Regions from separate parts of the Homo sapiens genome. Here all the other regions are linked to region 2. Evidence: promoter capture Hi-C in 16 types of primary human blood cells and fetal thymus (Javierre and others, 2016). All regions are on one chromosome and are shown on one strand. Each heading gives the region's core, a stretch centred on a gene start or on the middle of the fragment in contact. The rest is flanking DNA. Distances are from core to core; before and after follow the strand shown. Region 1 holds the start of ABRACL (ABRA C-terminal like). Region 2 holds the start of VTA1 (vesicle trafficking 1). Region 3 has its middle 5.7 kb from the start of HECA. Region 4 overlaps CCDC28A (coiled-coil domain containing 28A).

What was found. The method cuts DNA at HindIII sites, captures the fragments that hold promoters and counts their contacts. A CHiCAGO score of 5 or more calls a contact.
Region 1: the fragment with the promoter of ABRACL here is called in contact with the fragment with the promoter of VTA1 in region 2 in 6 of 17 cell types (total B cells, non-activated CD4 T cells, naive CD8 T cells and 3 more); the score reaches 8.3 in total B cells.
Region 3: a fragment that was not itself captured here is called in contact with the fragment with the promoter of VTA1 in region 2 in 1 of 17 cell types (total B cells); the score reaches 6.0 in total B cells.
Region 4: a contact is called between a fragment that was not itself captured here and the fragment with the promoter of VTA1 in region 2, in 3 of 17 cell types (total B cells, total CD8 T cells and non-activated CD4 T cells). The highest score is 12.1, in total B cells.

Annotation. Positions count from the first base shown.
Region 1 is chr6:139,026,248-139,031,184 of GRCh38, forward strand. ABRACL (ABRA C-terminal like) reads left to right here and starts at 2,498. Exons shown (of 3, transcript NM_021243.3): 1 at 2,498-2,628. RefSeq lists silencers at 2,662-2,821, 3,082-3,451, 3,501-3,691 and enhancers at 3,345-3,639, 3,462-4,281. The HindIII fragment of the contact is 5,437 bases long and covers 788-4,937 here.
Region 2 is chr6:142,143,487-142,148,557 of GRCh38, forward strand. VTA1 (vesicle trafficking 1) reads left to right here and starts at 3,777. Exons shown (of 8, transcript NM_016485.5): 1 at 3,777-3,913. The coding sequence starts at 3,802. It overlaps NMBR (neuromedin B receptor), which reads right to left and starts at 3,636. Exons shown (of 4, transcript NM_002511.4): 1 at 3,558-3,636. RefSeq lists enhancers at 3,506-3,800, 3,564-3,703, 3,958-4,478. The HindIII fragment of the contact is 1,973 bases long and covers 3,206-5,071 here.
Region 3 is chr6:139,126,842-139,131,836 of GRCh38, forward strand. No RefSeq gene overlaps it. Among named protein-coding and RNA genes, the nearest start is that of HECA, 5.7 kb to the right of the region's middle. RefSeq lists an enhancer at 1-292. The HindIII fragment of the contact is 519 bases long and covers 2,433-2,951 here.
Region 4 is chr6:138,778,485-138,783,278 of GRCh38, forward strand. CCDC28A (coiled-coil domain containing 28A) reads left to right here. Exons shown (of 6, transcript NM_015439.3): 3 at 1,338-1,501. Among named protein-coding and RNA genes, the nearest start is that of CCDC28A, 7.1 kb to the left of the region's middle. The HindIII fragment of the contact is 570 bases long and covers 1,289-1,858 here.

The DNA.
Region 1 (4,937 bases), core at 1,248-3,747, 3.1 Mb before region 2:
TTCACAATTTTATTTCCTTCGGACAGTGCTGGTCCGAATTAAATACATGCAATTAAATTACAATGCATGCAATTAAATACATGGATAAGGATTGTTTTAATATTTCAAATGTACATTACTTGCAGTTCTGTTTGACAAAGGACAGGTCATGGGCTACTTTGGACGATTTAGTATTGGCACTTTGTGGCTGGCACATTTATTTAAAATATATTAAATACTCTTTAATTTGATAAATTGTATTATTTTCTTTTTAGGTTAAACTTCCACATTGCTTACATTGTACATGATGATATTCCTGAGGGAATAAGAATAGATAACAAAAGTCTATTTGGAAATTGAAGGACTAGGATTGGATATGAAAAATATTAGTTAAGATTTTTTAATATTTCTTTTATCAAAACAGCTTTCTTTTTTCTTTTCTTTTCTTTTCTTTCCTTTTTTTTTTTTTTTTTTTTTTTTGAGATGCAGCCTCACTCTGTTGCCCAGGCTGGAGTGCAGTGGCACGCTCTTGGGTCACTGCAACCTTCGCCTCCTGGGTTCTAGTGATTCTTCTGCCTCAGCCTCCAGAGTAGCTGGGATTACAAGCATGTGCCACCACGCCTGGCTAATTTTTGTATTTTTAGTAGAGACGGGGTTTTGCCATGTTGGGCAGGCTGGTCTCGAACTCCTGACCTCAGGTGATCCGTCCACCTTGGCCTCCCAAAGTGTTAGGATTACAGGCATGAGCCACTGCGCCCAGCCGACAAAACAATTTTCTTAAATTGTAATTCCTTATAGATTAACATAAAGCTTGTGTTATACTTAGTTTAGCACATGTGTAAACAAAGTATCTTTTGGGTGAGTTTATTTTTATATTAACAAGGATGTTTACTTCTTTAGGTAAAGTAACCTATTTCTTTTTCTTTGGTTGGCAATTAGGGCAATACTAATTACCTAATCATAACAGAAGCGGTGCTCTCCAGACTCATTATTCCTATCATTGGATATTATCTGACTGATGAATTGTGATCCCTGTCACAGGCCAAAATAGCGAGGTCCTGCTTCGATAATTGCTAAATATATTTTTCTTGAATTATATATTTTTTGCCTTATGTCGACTGTGAAAGATATAAACTATAACTTCTCACCTTTCTTTTGGTGAGAAAAAAATAGGCCTCAATCATTTTGGTAACAATATAAAACAAGTAAAAGAAAAAAATAGGTCTGAAAAGATCTTGGAGTCACCTTAAACTTTATCTGCCATGAGACACTTAGAAGAATCAGACCTTTGTTGAAGATTACAGAACAGAGACTCCTTCAGTCACACCCAGGAGACAGGTATTCACCGTAAAGACTAGAATGAAGCGTGGGAAGTGGATGGATCCAGTGCAGCCCCAGGGAACTGAACACTCACATGCCCCTGGGAAGCAGGTCTTTGTTGCTCTCCTTCCATCACTTGGTCTCAGCTTGTCTTTGACTGGCTTCTACCACTTGTGCCTCCACCCAACCTGCTGCTACATTCTCCTGGTTTCTGCTTACTCAAATGTTTTGCATCCGAAGCCCATTTTGGCCCCTTCTGCCTTACCCTCTCTTAGCTCCAACCTTTCTCTTACATCAGACAGCTCCGTCTCTGCATTCTCCACTTTCCATTTCCAAGGGAGTGTCTGATTGGCTTACTAACTATCAGAGTCCGTGTTTGATGAGAACTGTTTGCTCCAGGTCACCTCACAGGATGATGACTACATCACGGATTGTGCGCTCTTGGGTCACGCGATCACTCTTAATTTAAATTAGCTGGGCTGGGGGTGGGGAGGGGGTAAGGAACGTTTTTTGTAGTTATTTGTGCAACCCCTGCTCTAGAAATAGTTTGGGTAACTGTTTCCTTTCCAAAAGGACTCTCTGGGTACGGTAAGCATCTCTCTCTCACACACGCATATATTAAAATAACAGTGACTAAAACAAAGGGAGCATGAATAAATTGAATTATGAAGTTAAATGTATGAAATAATGAATGAACAAGGGAAGAAACCGATACTGACCCAGGGTCAACAACTATCTATGTCCAAGTAAAATTTCTTTGCAGTCTGACAAATTGGCTTTCAAGATTGCATTTTGTTTTGCGAATTAAGCCATTTTTAAGTCATGAGTCGTAGTTTTCTGGAGGCCCCCGGCATCCGGAACCCATGAATGCCACGTTCTTTCTAGCAGCCTTCAGCAATTTGAGGGCGCTTTGTTTCTTACGTTGGGAGAGAAATCCATCAGGAAATCGACGCCCAGGATCAGATGCAGATCCTGGGATCCTTGGCTCTGAGTAGCACGGTGGAAAAGTGAGGTAATCCAGGCTCTGGGCCCGTTTTCCTAGGAGCCCAGGGCGCTTCACCTGTCTGCAGTCAGCCCCTTTCTTGGACGTCTCCTCCCCTGAGTTTCCTCCTCATAGGCTTGTCCCTGGGAGTGTGGGCGGCCCCTTTCTTGAGCGCAGAAACACTTACTTTTCCCCCTACCCTGCTCCTCCTCCTCCACAGCCGTCTTTCTCTTTGCCTCAGCCACTTCCTTCCTTGGCCTCACCCTCCCCAGTGCACTGAAGAAGGTAACCGGGTCCAGACCCACGCGGCGCCAGTTCTCCGGCGGGAAGGAAAACCGCGCAGAGAGGTGCGTGAGCGCCCGGGCAGATGTGGCTTAGGTAGCAGGGATGGACTGGGTGTCCGTGGTGCGCCGCCGGGCACCGCGGGCTGCGGTGAGAGTCGGGTCAGGAGGGGGCCGGGAGGGGGCTCAGGGCGCGCGGAAGCTGCGACCGGCTGGGCCGAGACCTCGCGGGTTGGGGTCCCGTGGGGCGCGCGCCGCCCACGCCCCCACCTCTCGGGTCGACTTCCGCACTCGGCTCACGTGACGTTTCGCCGGCCGGGGGCGGACTGGGAAGCCGGCAGAAATGGAACGATTTTTACCGCGGTGCGACGTGTCGGCTTTGCACTTGGCGGTGGTTCAGGAGCCAGTTCTGCAGAGCTGGGTGGGGAAGGGCTGGGGGCGAGAGGAGAGGCTGCCCCGAGGAACGTGGTGGCCTCAGGGCAGTGGACTCTGCAGCGCCGGAGGTGGGTGCGGCTCTGTGCGCTCCAGATCAGGGGGTGCAGAGTCGTGAGGGGACACCAGGGGCTCGTGGAGCCCGGGGCAGGGTCCGTTTTCGTCGCCCGGGTTGGGTGCTCGCTCTCGCGGCGCTTCGGGGCGCCCGGGCCACGGGGGAGGCAGACCCGCGGCGCCGGGCCGGGAGCTGCGGAGACAAAGACTTCCGGGACGCGGCCCTTCCCGGGCGCCAGCGGTGCCGCCCCGCCACGGGGGGCCCAGCCCCGCGCTCCCCAGCCCTGCACTGGTGCCGGCGGTGACCGTGTGATGATGGGCTGCAGGGCACGGGGTTAGGGGACCTCTACCAGGCAGAACCCCAAGCTGGTAGCAGAATGGCCAAATATGGAGTGAGCGCGCCCCAGACCGGAGGGAGTAAGGAGCCCAGTCACCCTTTGACCCGCACCAGCTGCTTGTCCGCGATTGCGAAGAAGGGCTGGGAAAACGTGCCCAGCCCGAGTGTGTAAAGTTGGTTCCTGATTCCGGACATACCTATTCCAGTAGGCTTTATTTCCTTGGATATTAGAAAATCTCCATGCATTGCCTCCAAACTTTTGAAAAATAACAATGCCCTGAGGGTCCTTAAATACATTCTAAAGTGTGTATTGGTGGTGAGTTTCGGGTTCTGCCCAGTCCTCCGACTTTCCGCTTCCTTTGTGTTTCCCACGCACAAAGCCGAAATCGATTCTGCGACAATTAGAGTGCCTGGCCGTCATCTACCTCGCCTTCCCTGGAGCCTTTTCCTGTCTTCTGGTCCAGCCGCTCACCATTAAGCTCTTCCCTTTAGACTTGCTCTGCTTCTCACCTCTCCTCATTGTTCTTTTCTTTTTTTTTTTCTTAGACATAGTTTCACGGTACTCGTGAGAATGTGTTACATTCGTATAACCAAATCAGGGTAATTGGTATATCCATCACCCTAAATATTTATCTCTTCTTTATGCTAGGAACATTCAACTTAACTTGCTTTTAGCCATTTGGAAGTGTACAATCCATTAATGTGAACTATAGTCACCCCACTGATCAATGCAACACCAGGTCTTATTTCTTCTGTGTTTATACCCATCAACCTCTCTTCACCCTCCGCCCCCTTCATTGTTCTTCATCTTGCTCTCTGCAGTCCTGGGATTCTGTCCTTATTATAAAAGGCCATGGGTCTTTAAAGGATTGTGTCACAATAGGTATTTTTCCCCCTTTGTCCCTCTCCTTCCTAAATAATAAATAAATAAAACGTCAAATTATGTATGCTAGCAATTGTTTTTAAACCTGTTATTTTCCTATTTATGGTGGTCTGGGCAGGGAGCCTTTCTTGCTTTGTAAGTGTTCTGCCTTGGTAAGAGCTCAGCATGTCACGTTTCATACAAATACCACTCACTATTATATTTAGTGTATTTGCATAATGGCAAAAGAGGAAGAGGAAGCGGGGAAACAGCCACCACGATGTGGTAGAGACAGCATTTAATTGTGGGGCATTAACCCCTGTTTCGTTATCCTTAAAATAGAGGTAAATAAATGCCTTGCAAGGTTCTTAGAACTACATGAATTAACGTAGATAAGGAGCCTGATGTGTAATTAATTATAAAGAAACGCTGGTTGCCTTTCATGCTTAAAATTGGATGAACGTACATCTGCTTACTATAATGCAGGTATGCGTACTATATATAATAGATGAATTTCCCCTTTGATGCTCATTATTCAATGAGAGCTAAGTCTGAAGTATGTTGCTGGAGGTGGGAGGAAGGAGCGAAGAAGGGTGTTAAAGAGATAACATCTTTCCGGGGTCGGGAATCAGAGAATCAGAGAATTGGAAAGTTCCTTAATTTCTTTGGACATTTTCATTCTCCCTCTGT
Region 2 (5,071 bases), core at 2,527-5,026:
TTGGCCAGGCTGATCACAAACTCCTGACCTCAGGTGATCCACTCTCCTCGGCTTCCCAAAGTGCTGGAATTACAGGCGTGAGCCACTGCACCATTTTAAGTGGAAAAATAAACCATGTCGAGTAAGGCTTGGCAGTCTTACTCATTTGTAACTTTAGTCATTATAAACTGATCTGTAAATTCAATATAATTCCAGTCAAAATCCTAGGAAACTTATATAGAAATTGACAAGCTGTTTCTAAAATTTATATGGAAATACAGGAGATGTAGAATAGCCAACACAATTTTGCAAAAGCAAAGGAAAAAAAAAAAACAGACAGAGGACTTACACTACATACTCTGAAGACTTCTTTAAAGGTACAATAATCAAAATCATGTGGACCGGGCATGAAGATAGGCATATGGAATGGGAACAATCAAGAGACTGGAAATATGTTTGCTCGTATATAGTTAGCTTATTGTTTTAAATGTGCTAATGCAATTCACATTTGTGAATACATTATATTCGTATATAGTTAGCTTATTGTTTTAAATGTGCCGGAACAATTAAATATCCGTGTTTAAAACATAAAATGCAATGTTTATAGTGTCTACATGTCCCAGCCATGGGCGGATGGGGTGGCAAATGGTCCTGGCCAAGTTTTCAGGGTCTTCCCTATCATTCTTCTGCGGAAAATTTAAGGAAAAATTATTTCTACTTGGGGGGGATGCTAAAATAATAGGATGTTAGTCTCATGATACTGGAAGCCAAATTTCTACCACATACAGTATCTTAAAAAGATACAGCTATAGATATATATATTATCCTGATTACATTGACTGATGCCCTGTCATTTGCCAACAAGATGGTTCTGACCAAACGGACACAGAATATTTTTATTGTCAGATGATCACACATACATGTGTGTATGTAGGGTATGGTGTAAAACATTTTTTCCCATCAAAACACCTGTCAGCTCTAGTTTCTCTCCATTTTCTTCTTCCTATGGTTGCCCTCACCCCCTATTTTGTTCTACAGCTCTGCCCTCCCCTTACTTGCCAAGGTTCTAGCCCAGTCCTAGAGGGTGATGTCAGATCCTTCAGAAACTGGTCTGAGATGAATGGAGAAGAAGAATGTAGGTCTTTCTAGTAAAATATCATAGTAAAACAAGAAAAAGCAACCTCACAGTCATTAATATTTGTTTTATAGCATAATTTCAATGTGTGTTACACTAACACTGTCTCTGTACTGTTCTCCATCAAATCAATTATCATCTCATGAAAGGGTTAGCATATTTAGAAAGAAGAGAGCATGAGGCTCTTGTCTGTAATCTCAGCACTTTGGGAGGCCGAGGCAGGAGTATCACTTGAGACTAAGAGTTCAAGACCTGCCTAGGCAACAAAATAATAATAATTAGCCATAGTGTTATGTGCCTGTGGTCCCAGTTACTCAGGAGGCTGAGGCAAGAAGATCCTTGAGCCCAGGAGTCCAAGACTGCAGCGAGCTCTGATAGTGTGCTGCACTCCAGCTTAGGTGACAGAGTGAGAACCTGTCTAAAAAAAAAAAAAAAAAAAGAAAGAAAAAAAGAAGGAAGGAAGGAGAAAAGAAAGAAAAGAAAAGAGCATGTGTTGGCAGATCAGAGAGTAAAATCCAACTCCAACCATTTCACTTTCTTATTTTTCCCTCAGTCCTGCTCATGAGGGTATGCAAATAAGAGTACACATGAATGTATGCAAATGAGAAAGAGTGGCAAAATTCACTTCTGAAGGGGGAGATCAGGAGAGTAACAGGAGGGTGCAGCCTTCTACCAGGAAGAGGAACATTTGTTTCTCAGACATAAGATGATGGAATAGAGAAAAGATAAAACATAAGATCTAGAAAGACATCATAGTCAAGTAGTAATGGCTAGGTGCACAGGCTCTGAAACCAAAATACCTAGATTTTAATGTGGAATACTCATCCTTCCTGGCTGTGACCTAGTGCAAGTTATCTAGATTCTATGTGTCTTATTTTTCTCATCTGTAAAATAATAATGATATGTTCCTCATAGGGTTGTGGTGCAAATTAAATAAATTAATATAAAGACCCTAGAAACATGCATGATACATAGTTGATGCTCAGCAAATGCTGCTAGCTAGTTATTATTACTTTAAGTTGTGGTAGAGGCAAGGCAAAATAATTCATATCTGGTGGTGGCCTTAATCTCAATAGCAGGAAATGCTGTTGTAGACCAAGGAAATTGGGGCTGAGTGCCTAGCTTGAATAGAGCGAGAGAAGTTTGAAACACCATCTGTGGACTACAGCACTGGTCCTTAACCCTAGACGTAACATTAAAATTACATGAGGACCTTTTAAAGATACTGACATTTAGGATCCCACCTAGAACAATTAAGTGAGAATGCCTGGAGTGGGCTTTAAAGTTGATCTTTAAGGGCAGCTGCGGTTGAGAATCAAGAAGTAATAGGAAACAAATAAATGAAAAGTTGTGAGTATAGAAAGAAAACAGTTATGGTTATCCAACTCTGCTTTTCTTCATTGATTTCTCTACCAATCTAGCAACTTTTGACTGGAAAGTCCAAATAGTGGGAGTAAGAGAAAGAGAAAGAAACCATACATTCTCCAGTGGTAGGAAATATGCCGCTGAGATTGGGGAAGAAGACAGAACTGAGTTTCAGGCTGAGTAAAAAAGCCCGACCCAGAATAAGATGATGGACTTTGCAAATAGGTCTAGGCAACGTATGTGGAGTGGGATAATATGAGGACATGGAGCGGTTTCTTCTGGGGGTGAGAGAGTGATCAGAAAATAGTAGGCAGAGGGGAATTTCCGAGCTGGAGATTTTGGCTCTTGGGGATAGTGTGATTTCAGTGAAAACTAGTTTTAAGATGAATTGTCAAAACTGAGGACTGAGATAAAATAAAGAAGGTTATTGGAGGAAGTAAATAAAGTGTACAGTCCTGAAAGATATAAGTAAGGGATGGAGAGGAGAGGAAGAGAATTGAAGTCATTGAGGGTAGAAGGAAAAGTGATGCCTACTGTACAATGGTTAAGAGTTACCAGCGTTGAAAACGTCCCAAACACCCTATCTTACATTAAGACAAGATAATAAATATGAAAATACTTTACAAATTGTTAATCACTCTCCAGAAAAAAAAAAGGTGATCTACAGATTATTCATTCACTAAAATACGTACTAGCCAGCTGAGAACAAAAGTTCAATCTTCTTTAAGCTTCATATGTTTAGCTTAATTTGGCGCGAAATCTGATTATTTTATCCAGTATGTCAACATAGAAAAATTTAATTTACAATTTAAACACATTATTTCTCTCTCATGCAAGTATTGAAATTAAAGTTTCTAAAATCAAAAAGGCTTCTAAAGGACACTGCTATATGGAATATTAATGTGGCATATTAACTGGAAGTGGTAATTCCTGAATGACGCCAAAGGCAATTCTCGCCTTTATACTTTCTCCCAGTCAACATACATTATTTTCTTGTTTTTCCTTTTCTATCCTTCCTTTTGCCACAAACAACAAACCAAACAAAAAAGCAAAACAAAACAAAAACCCTTCCTCCTACCAGCAGAGAGCGCTAGCGCCATGCGCGGCATAAGCGCCAAAATGCTCGGGTCTTCTGTGGGTTCTAACCGCCGAGAGCCAAGCACCCTGAGGTTGTCCCAGCTGGGGATCCGTAGTTGACTTGACGTCGCTGAGCAACGGAAGAGTGGGCAGCATTTGCTCTGAACGCTCGTGCGCGCTACCGCCCAGACGGAAGCGGAAGTGCCGGTGGAGCGCGAGTAGGAAGTGGTGAGTTCGGAGTAGAGATGGCCGCGCTTGCACCGCTGCCCCCGCTCCCCGCACAGTTCAAGAGCATACAGCATCATCTGAGGACGGCTCAGGAGCATGACAAGCGAGACCCTGTGGTGGCTTATTACTGTGAGTCTTTCCGAGTGGCCGCGCCCTTTCTTTCCCAGTTGCATTTTAGGGCCCACACACCTCCCTGAGGTTCTTGGGGCATGCCCCGCCCCCCTCGCTTTAAACCTGAGCTTTGACCTCGAGCCTACCCAGGGAACTCCCTGGGTTCCCACCCCCTGGCAGTAGGAATCCCAAAACACCATGGTGTCCACTGCTTCTCCTATCTTGTGCTTAAATGCTCCAGTACTGACTACACAGGCTCTTGAACTGTGGAATATAATCTTCCAAGGTTTTCTCTGTGTGTGTACACACAAGAGCTTCTTGTCTCAAATAGGAATCCTGAAAATAAATTGAGTTAGGTTTAAAACGAAGGTGAGTGTCCGAAAGAAGGAGTGATGTGGATAAAAGGACGATAGACTAGTTGAAAACATAGTAATAAGTGAATATTATTTATGACAGCATGCAAGCCCAATCAGAAACTCATTTGGTTAAATGGGGAGTATCTGCTACTAAATAAGCAGTTGAATTTGACCTTTCCCCACCCAGCTGCTCTCTCCTACCATGCAGAATTTTTAGTTTTGACTTCTTTGAATAATACCCGCTGTTGAGACCTTTGAAAGCAGTATTTTCACTTTGAGTGTTATACGTTGAATTTACAGTTTGATTAAAAAAAATATAGGTTAACTCTGCTCAAACTTGTAGTGAGTAAAGGGAGTGCCAGTAATTCTGTGTTAACTTTATTTTGTATTCTGTACTCTTAACTTTACTGCAAATAAAACAAGTAACTGGACAATTATAATTCTGAAAAGGATATTTAGAGTTGAGAAGTTGGATATAATGCGTCCATTGTTGTGTATATTGTAAGGTTAGCTAAAATCTGGTCACTGTTATCTCTGCCATACTCCAAATGTACCCTGTTTCTCAAATGTGCAAGGCCTTTTCAGACCTACCATCTTCCACTCTCTTGGAATGTGCACCTTTTTCTTGCACTTGGCAAACTCATGATTCAAGATCTAACCCAAATGTCACCACTTCTGTGGGCAGCAAATTGATTATTCTCTGTGCATTACTTCATTTTGTTCAAATTTTACAGCATCATTTTTATTATACTTGTTCTTCAGTTTCCTCAAGCAGGGTCCATATTCATTCAGTATGTGTTCATTGAGCTACCTTTGTATC
Region 3 (4,995 bases), core at 1,442-3,941, 3.0 Mb before region 2:
TATTAGGAGAGAGAGATTGGGCTCAACTCCAAATACAACAAGGAAAAGTGGGGATTTGTAGCCAAGGAGCAGGGGTGGGAGTCAGTGGATAGACAGTTACTAAGAGGAAACATCAAGGTTAGGGGGATTGTGGCCAAACTGACTTGAGAGGATTCTTGCTGAAGGCAGGCCAGGCTGATCTCATACGGAAAGTTGGGGATTTTTATGAAATTGACCCAGCAAGATTCTTGCTAAAACGGAACTAAGCAGGCCAAGGACGAGGCAAGGTTGGGGCCTAGTCAAAAAGAGGAATCAGAGGGGCCTGACTCAAGTTTGGTCAAGGACGGAGTCTTTGTCACCCTCTCCATGTGGCCTCTCATCATTCCATAGTCTGGCTCAAGTTTCTTTGCAGCATGGTGGCTGGCTTTTGGGAGAGCAAAAGCAAATTTAGGGTCCAGACTAGAGCAATTGCACTTTTGCTGCATTTCTAATTGGTCAAAGCAAGTCACAAGGCCAGGTTAGATTTAAGGGGAAGGCAAACAGACTCCACCTTTTGAAGAGAGGAGTAGCACATTTGTGTTCATCTTTAATCCATGCAGTGCTATGTTTGCATTTAAGGACTTAGAACAAATATTCTGCAGGAGGAAAGGAAATCTTAAGACAAAATTCTATTCGAGATTGATTGAAATGAACTCCAGAACCATACATAGCAGTACTTATTACTGGACTAAATGTGAAACTGATTGTTCATGTGATGGTAAATTTTTGTTACCTATAACAATTACAGCATATTTGAAGTTTCTTAAAATGGAAGCAATACCATGAATGTTCAACTGTTTACATCATTTAGAATTAGTACTTAATGTATTATATCTTCTGACAGTTTCCGTTTTATAGTTTTGAAGATATTTCCCAAGAAGTTTTCTAAAGAACTGGTTGTTTACAAGAGGGATCCAGTATCTGTCTTTTCACCATTGTATCAATACTCACCTGATTGCTAGTGCCAGAAGTAGATTGTTTTCTTTTCTTTTTCTTCTTCCTTATTTTTTTTGAGATGGAGTCTCACTCTGTCGCCCAGGCTGGAGTGCAGTGGCACCATCTGGGCTCACCACAACCTCCGCCTCTCAGGTTCAAGAGATTCTCCTGCCTCAGCCTCCCGAGTAGCTGGGATTATAGGAGTGCACCACCACACCCAGCTAATTGTTATATTTTTGGTAGAGATGGCGGGGGTGGTTCACCATGTTGGCCAGGCTGGTCTCAAACTCCTGACCTCAAGTGATCTGCCTGTCTCAGCCTCCCAAAGTGCTGGGATTACAGGTGTGAGCCACTGTGCCCAGCTAGAAGTAGATTTTTGTTGTTGTTGTTCCAAGGCATTATTTCCCCTAAAAATATTCAGCAGGACTCTACTTCCGTAGAATGTTAATAAGCATTACATGTAAAAGGATTTATAGGTTATATACATTTGGGAAATTCTAAGTTGAGAGTAAACAGGTTTCTTTACTGCTGGACTTTTAGGATCTTTACTATGCTAATATATATTGTGACTCATACAATATACAGTGTTTCCTAGACTTATTTTACCACAGAAATAGAGGCACGTCTTATATAACTAGTGTTCCTCAGGATATTCTTGGTAGAAATCATTCCAAGTAGAAATAAAGGAGGAAGCTGAATCTTGAGAGAAAATTCTAGCCAAGATCAATCAAAATTAACTCCAGAAACAAGCAGAGCAGTAGCCTTAGCACTTAGAAAAAAAATAGGTGTTCTTGAAATAGATCCTCAGATCCAACAATGAACTAACTACACTGATTGTGTTTGTTCTAAAAGTCAATAGTTCTTTAACTACAGAGGCCTGAAACACTTAAGCCAAAGATCTTTTGCAAAAGTTATTGTAAATTCATGAAATTTTATCATCCAAGATCATCAAAGATTCATTAGTTGAAACAGCAGTGTGGAAAGGAAGAACTGGAATAAGGTCTTAATTTTTCCATGCTTTTTATCTTATAAACTAAACTCGAAGCCCTTGAAAATGAGAACTTAGAGTGCAAGCAGTATATGAAGATATTTGTGGTAGGTAGTTTCTAAGATGGTTTGTTGTTGTTGTTGTTGAAACAGAGTCTCACTCTGTCGCCCAGACTGGAGCGCAGTGGCATGATCTCGGCTCACTGCAACCTCCACCTCCCGGGTTCAAGTGATTCTCCTGCCTCAGCCTCCCAATTAGCTGGGATTACAGGTGCGTGCCACCACGCCCAGCTAATTTCGGTATTTTTAGTAGAGACAGGATTTCACCATCTTGGCCAGGCTCGTCTCAAACTCCTGAACTCGTGATCCACCCGCCTTGGCTTCCCAAAGTGCTGGGATTACAGGCGTGAGCCACTGTGCCCGGCCCTAAGATGGGTTTTAATGATCCCCATCCCTTGGTGTTCATGCCCTTGTGTAATTTCCTCCACCCAAGCTTTGGCTAAATCTGATGACTTGCTTCCAAGAAACAGAGTACAGCAAAATGATGGATGTTACTTCTGAGATTAGATTACAAAAAAGATTGGCATCTGTCTTGTTTACTCTCTCATGCTCCCTGTCTTTCTCCCTTGGATGAAACCAGCTGCCCTGTTGTGAGCTGCCCCAGGCTGAGGTTTCTGTGGTAAAGAACTGAGGGGAGGTCTGGGGCCAGCAGCCCACAAGGAATGTTGAATCCTTCTCGCAACCCTAGGACTGAGTTTGGAAATGGATCCTCCCCCAGTTGGCTGACTATAGCCTTCTGAGGACTCAGCTAAGCCATCCCAAGATTACTGATTCACAGAAACTGTGAGATAATAAATGTTTGTTGTTTTAAGCTGTTAAATTGTGGGGTCATTTGTTAGGCAGCAATAGATAATTAGCACCATATTAAAAGAGGCATTTAGAGAGGGCCAATGTTGTATTATCTAAGTCAAATCTTGCAGACAGCCTTCAGAAGCACTGTGGTTAAGTCAAGCTTTAGAATGGCAGAATAGAAAAGTGCTGATTTTAATTGGGCATAAACATAGGGGATATTGATAAAAACTAGATGACAAAAATCTTTGAGATTTCAGTGACACTCCAGAGGAGATATCAGAAATACAAGGTGTAGAAATGGATAATTCCATGGCCACTGCAATTGCTGATGAAGGTATTGCTATTATAGGGGTTCTTGTTATACAAATCTAGACCAAACTGAGCCATCCCTTTTTGGTTTAAATATTATGCTAGCTGAACATAAAAATGTGGTTTTAGAAGAATTCTTTTTTTCTTCATGAGATCTGGCTCAAATTATTCTTTTAGGTGCTCCTCTCCATTCTCTTTTATTGAATGAATATGTATTAAACACTTAACTATATGCCAGGCCCTGTTTTAGGTACAGAAGATTAACAGAGAAATCCTCACCCTCTTGAAACTTGCATTCTAGTGTGGAAGGACAGACAGTAAACAAAGTTAATAAACATAAAAATAAATCTCTTAGGCCGGGCGCGGCCTCTTAGGTGGCTCACACCTGTAATCTCAGCACTTTGGAAGGCCAAGGCGGGTGGATCTTAAGGTCAGGAGTTCGAGACCAGCCTGGCCAATATGGTGAAACCCCGTCTCTACTAAAAATACAAAAATTAGCTGGGCATGGTGTCGCAAACCTGTAATCCCAGCTATTCAGGAGGCTGCGGCAGGAGAATCACTTGAACCCGGGAGGTGGAGGTTGCAGTGAGCCGAGATTGTGCTACTGCGCTCCAGCCTTGGCGACAGAGCGAGACTCCGTCCCAAAAAAAAAAAAAAAAAAAAAAAGTAAATAAATCTCATGAAGGAAACGTTCTTTCGGGTTTACTGGGGCCTAAGATAGTATTGATGCTGAACTGGGACAATAGTATGAGCAAGGAAGGCACAGAGGTTCGAGTAAGCAGCAAGTTCAGGGATCACTGAAAAAAATTCTGACCCTTTTTTATGACTGCTTTTATAGATTATGAAAATAATGTAAAAGTCACAACTAAAGGATGGAAAAGAGATTTTAAGGGCAAATATTTGAGAAAAATATTAATATTGGTAATCGGGAACAGCCTAAAGGGAGAGTAGATCTATGGAATTTATTAATCAATATTATTATTTGCTTTAATATTCCATTTTTTCAAAGTTTTTATAATCACAATTGTCATTATTCCTCAAAGAAAACCTGTGGCCATAGGAAAGGCTATTTGCAGAAGAAAAAACTGATGCATGAAGACAATGCATTGCTCCAGGTGTATTTATTTGAAGTGACTTTTTAGCAGATCAGGCTTTAGTACCTTTTAGCTTATGTTTCAATTGTGGACATATTCTTGTGTGCATTACTGTGTTATCTGCAGAATTCCTTCTGAGTTCCAATATGATTTTTTCGATCAAGGTGTATTTGGATATTTGGCTTCTTACCTATGTTCTAAGTTTTCAATTATCCTTAACACATATATTTTGTACTTTAAACCTAACCAAACTTAGCTGACCCCAAGAGCTCAGAAGACAGCCACAAAATGTCAAATGAACAAAATTAGGGCACTGAAACAATGACTGCTTATTCCAGTTCAGCCTGAAGATTAGCCCACCCCTTTCTTAAGGGTGTAAATTGTTTGCTTTTGATGCCCTTGATTTGTTGCTGTGCTTTATTTTGTTTTCGCAGAGAAGTGAGCAATAGGGTGGGTGAGGTTTGGGGGAAGGAAACCTAGGATAGAGGTATAATTTTTTTGAAGTTTATATCAGAGCATGAGTTGATCAGGGAAATTGAAGAATGAGAAGGCAAGTGTAGATGTACAGAACAGAGTGGCTTCCTCAGTTCCTTGGAGTTCTTTATACTTCTGGAAGTTTCTAAGGGGAATGTTCCATTGTACCATCTGCCACCTTTTGTCTTTTGGTATGCTGTCTCTCTCTCTCACCTTCAGAAATGGTGGGAAAACGGCTAGGACAGCAGGATAGAACATAGGAAATGGAGTCCTTTAACTTCACCTACATTTTGTTCCTAACATCTTGATTTTAGTATATTGTCTT
Region 4 (4,794 bases), core at 324-2,823, 3.4 Mb before region 2:
ATATGCCAGACATGTGTAATAAGGACTAGTTTAGGCTAGGGGTTCCAAAAAGGCCTTCCTGAGGAAATAGCATTTAAACTGAGACTTGAAGATGTGTGGGAGGTAGCATGCCAAAGATGGCAGTAAGTGGAAGGATGCTAATGTAGGCAGAGGATTAGCACGTAAGAAGATAAGATAATGGATTTCTAGGAAACGAAAGAGATTCAGTGGCTAGAGCATAGATGAGGATAGGGTTTCTTAGGGATATTAGATTATATTCAGCAGGCAATGCAAAGCTACTAAAGCTTTTTTTTTTTTTTTTGACACGGAGTCTCGCTCTGTCACCCAGGCTGGAGTGCAGTGGTACAATCTCAACTCACTGCAACCTCCACCTCCTGGGTTCAAAGGATTCTCCTGCCTCAGCCTCCCAAGTAGCTGGGACTACAGGTGTGCACCACCACACCAGGCTAATTTTTGTATTTTTAGTAGAGACAGGGTTTTGCCATGTTGGCCAGGTTGGTCTTGAACTCTTGATCTCAGGTGATCCTCCTGCCTGGGCCTCCCAAAGTGTTGGAATTATAGGCACGAGCCACTGTGCCCGGCCTACTGAAGCATTTTTAATTAAGCAAATTGTATGATCTGATTTTACTTTTTGGAAATGGACTTGGCTGCCCGGTGGGGAGAGAAGGGAGATCAGGGATCACAGAGATAGGGAGACTGGTTGGGAAGCTATTTGGTTAAGAGATGGGATGGTGGCATGGGAGAAAGAGAACTGGAGAGATTAGATATTTTGTGGGTATAATTGATAGGACTTCATGACTGCATGTAGGAGCCTTAGGAAGTTAGAGGAGTCAAGGATGATAACAAGTTTTTAGTATTCCATTACATGGTGATTATGAATTTAAATATCTTCCCTTCTCTTTAGACGGGGCATTTGTGGATAATGTTGGCTACAGAGTAGGGACTCCAAAACCATATGTAGAACTACTGAGAGTTCAAGGAACAAATAAAGTTTAGAAGGGAAAGGTGTAATATGTTTTACTGAGAAATGAAATGTAAAGCATAGGATAATACAGACTTACAAGTTTTCTTTTCTGCAGTCCAAAGAATTAGCATATTATATAAATGTATTAATCAAACTTTTTATATGCCTTTGTAGTTATATTTTATACATTTGTTTGAGGTTTTTCACAACCTTTTTTTTCTTTTGGTTTCTGGCTTGGAGTTTCTGGTTTTGTTTAGTATTGACTCTATTTGATTTCTTGCTTTTAAGGGAAATTCCATTTACTTCACTAAAAAATTAAGCAAAAGCTTAATCTAGAATAGCCTAAAAAGCCTAAATTTCATCGTCTTTACAGAGTGATGAAAGAAAAGACCAAACCTCAGGGTGGAGAGGGCAAAGGCGCTCAGTCAACTCCGATCCAGCACTCCTTCCTCACTGATGTCTCAGATGTTCAGGAGATGGAGAGAGGGCTGCTCAGTCTTTTGAATGATTTCCACTCTGGAAAACTTCAAGCATTTGGTAAGCAATAGATGTTTCTGTATTATTTTTTTCTCTAAGATGTTTGCATCCTGTTTTCTGTGTGTATTTTACTCTTCTTTTCAAAGTGCCAGTTTCTTTTAAGAAAAAAAGAGCCCACAGGCATAAAGGCAATCATCCTAGATTTTGTCTTAGAATATAATTTGCCTTCTAAAACTTCTGGGAAAAAGTTTTTTTTTAAGAGGGAGGGTTAGTTGAAATGTTGAAGTAGGATTGCCATTATGGAATAAGTATCTTGCAAGTTTAACAAATAAGAGGGACAGTCTTGGTCAGTTAAAATATTTTAGACTTAGTGTCTTCGTTTTGAAAGTATCAAGATCATTTTCCCTTACCCTCTTAAGCTTAAACTTGTTTCTTGCCTGGGATTCCTGATTTAAAGTTAGGAATTAAAAGAATCCAGTTTTCTTGTTTTTTCATGAGGATATAAGAATAGTTAACTGATTGTCCCATTAAAAATTCTGAATAGGTATTTTTTCGTAGTCACAGAGTTCACAAAAGATAGTCAGATTTTTCATGTGCAGTCTGGAACTTATTTGTAAGCTTTTTCTAATGATAAGATTATTTCCCAATTTTTTTTTTTTTTTTTTTTGAGACAGAGTCTGGCTCTGTCGCCCAGGCTAGAGTTCCATGGCACGATCTCGGCTCACTGCAACCTCCACCTCTCGGGTTCAAGTGATTCTCCTGCCTCAACCTCCCCAGTAGCTGAGACTACAGCCATGTGCCACGGCCAGCTAATTTTTTGTATTTTTACTAGAGACGGAGTTTCACCGTGTTAGCCAGGATGGGTCTCCATCTCCTGACCTTGTGATCTGCCCGCCTCGGCCTCCCAAGGTGCTGGGATCGCAGGCGTGAGCCACCGCGCCTGGCCTATTTCTCAATATTTTAAAAAGCAATTTCAATAATATGCATAATCTTTTTAAAAAATTTTAACTTCCCCAGTTTTTTAGAAGATGCATAATCTTATACAAATGCATAAATGTCCACATACATATTGATTTTTTAAAGTATTCTTTCCCTCCCCAATGTTTTTGTTACTTAACTTCCCCATTCCCTCTTATCCCTTCTGCTACTTCCACTTCCCCTCATCCCAGCCATTTGTTAACAGTCCAGGTGTATATCCTTTCATATTTTTATTTTCATTATTTAATACAAATGGTATACAAGATATTCTGTGTCTTGCTTTCCTGCACTAAAGAATATCTGATGGAAATCTCTCTAATGCACCTAGGATTGCTCTAGTTCATTCTTTTTTAATGGCAACATAATATTCCAAGTTGTGAATATACTCTAGTTTATTCAACTATGTCCCTATTGAGAGGCATTACTTTGTTTCTCATTTTGAGCCACCAAACACAATGGCATAGTCAACATCTTTTTACACAGATCTTTAGGCTGGTGCCTCTATTCTTTTGGGATTGATTCTCATGAGTGGGATTGCTGGGTCAAAGCATATATGTAATTTTAACTTTAATAGAAGTATGCAGATTGCTTTGCAAAAAGAACAATACCGCACTTCTAGGTTCCATAAATAATTTATGAAAAAATGCTTTTCCTTGAATTCCCGCCAAGCAGTAGGTATTATTCGTCTTTTAATTTTTGCCAGTCTCTTGGTGTAAAGTGAGATGTCTTTTATTACAATTGAGTTTGAAGATCCGTGTGTGTTTGGTAGATTGTTTGATAGGTCCTTTTCAGGACCTTTTGTCAGTTTTCTACTTGGTTATTTATCCTTTTGTTGTTGTCACTTGTAAAGAGCCCTTTGTGTTTTAGATACTAACCCTCTGACCTCTATTATGTATTTATTTTTGTCTACCAAATTTGTTGTGTCTGTGCACTTTGTTTATGGTATATTTAACCTTGTAAAAGTTTTTACTTTTTGCATTCTCAAACATGTCTGTATCTTTTCTTTCAATAGTTGCTGGGTTTCCAGTCTTGGTTATGCTAATATTTGAAAAGAAGATATTAAAAGCAGATTATTTATTTCACAAAAATACTTTATTGTACCCCTACCTCCTTGCTTTAGCCCATCCCAGTAAGGTGGTATCTTCAGAGTATTTTCACTTCCCCTCTCTTCCCTTCTTCCCTCCTACCCTTGAGATGTAATCTTTGGACCACTTCCACGTCTTTGCTTTTTCCCAGCACCTTTCCTCCCCTACTCTATGTTGCCTTTGTGTTTTTGGATTGAAGTCCTTTCTTGTCTTTGTCTGTTATCCTACTGATTACTCTTCATAATAAGTGTTGCAGATGAGAATTCCATTGCCAGTCAGAGTCTTTCTTAGCAGGTAATTTATATTTTTCTGTCTCGATGATTAAAAGATGTTTTTCTTTTATCTTTAAAGGTTAGGCATTTTCCAGGATATGCTTAGGACTGTGTCTTTTCTCATCAATCTGCCTGGGAATCAGTGAGCCCTTCATATCTGCTGACTCATCTTTCATCTCACGTAACATATTTTCTATTGTTTATTATTTTTCTTCCATCTCTTCCTTTTTAGCCTCTGAAGCTTCTATTGTTCTCATGGTAGGTCACCTAGATCCGTCCTCTGACTCTCATCTTTTCCCATATGATTTCTACCTCTTTATATTTTTACTGTACATTTACATACATAAACACAAACATACATACATACACACAAACACGTATCTTGAGATATTTCTGTTTCTTCCACTTGACCTTCCAGGTTACTAATGTTGAAAAACATGACTAAAATAGAGGAAATATGACATATTTTACTGTGAAGAAAGGACGATTTTGAGAGAGCCATAACTAGCTTCAACATTAGTAGTCCTTAACATAATGTCGTATAGTCCATTTATGAAGATGTTATAAAGCTGGCTAGAGGAAACTAGCATAATTTACATTAATTCATATTTATTTAGGATATGTACTTCAACTTTAGCTGAGGTATATTTTACCTGTATAGTACCTTTAGGAAAAACAGAAAGGTTTTTTTTTTAAAAAATTCTACTATCAAGGGATTGCAGAGTCTGTACTTAAACTGAATGAAAAGATAATACGTTATGTGTATAAATTAGTTGCTCTGGGCAGATAATGTCACTTCAGAGGACTCTTGGTCAATATGTAATGTAAGACCTATTCTTTAGCAATTAAGTTGTCTTGACAACTGTGTGTACAATTAAAAATATTACATAGTGTTGCTCATGCTTCATGCCATTTTTCATGCTTCATAAATATTTTTATTTATATTTCTTAAAGGAAGAATACATAATTGGTTGAAAAAATGATTCACATTTGAAGTCGTTATTGAACTTTTTTTTTT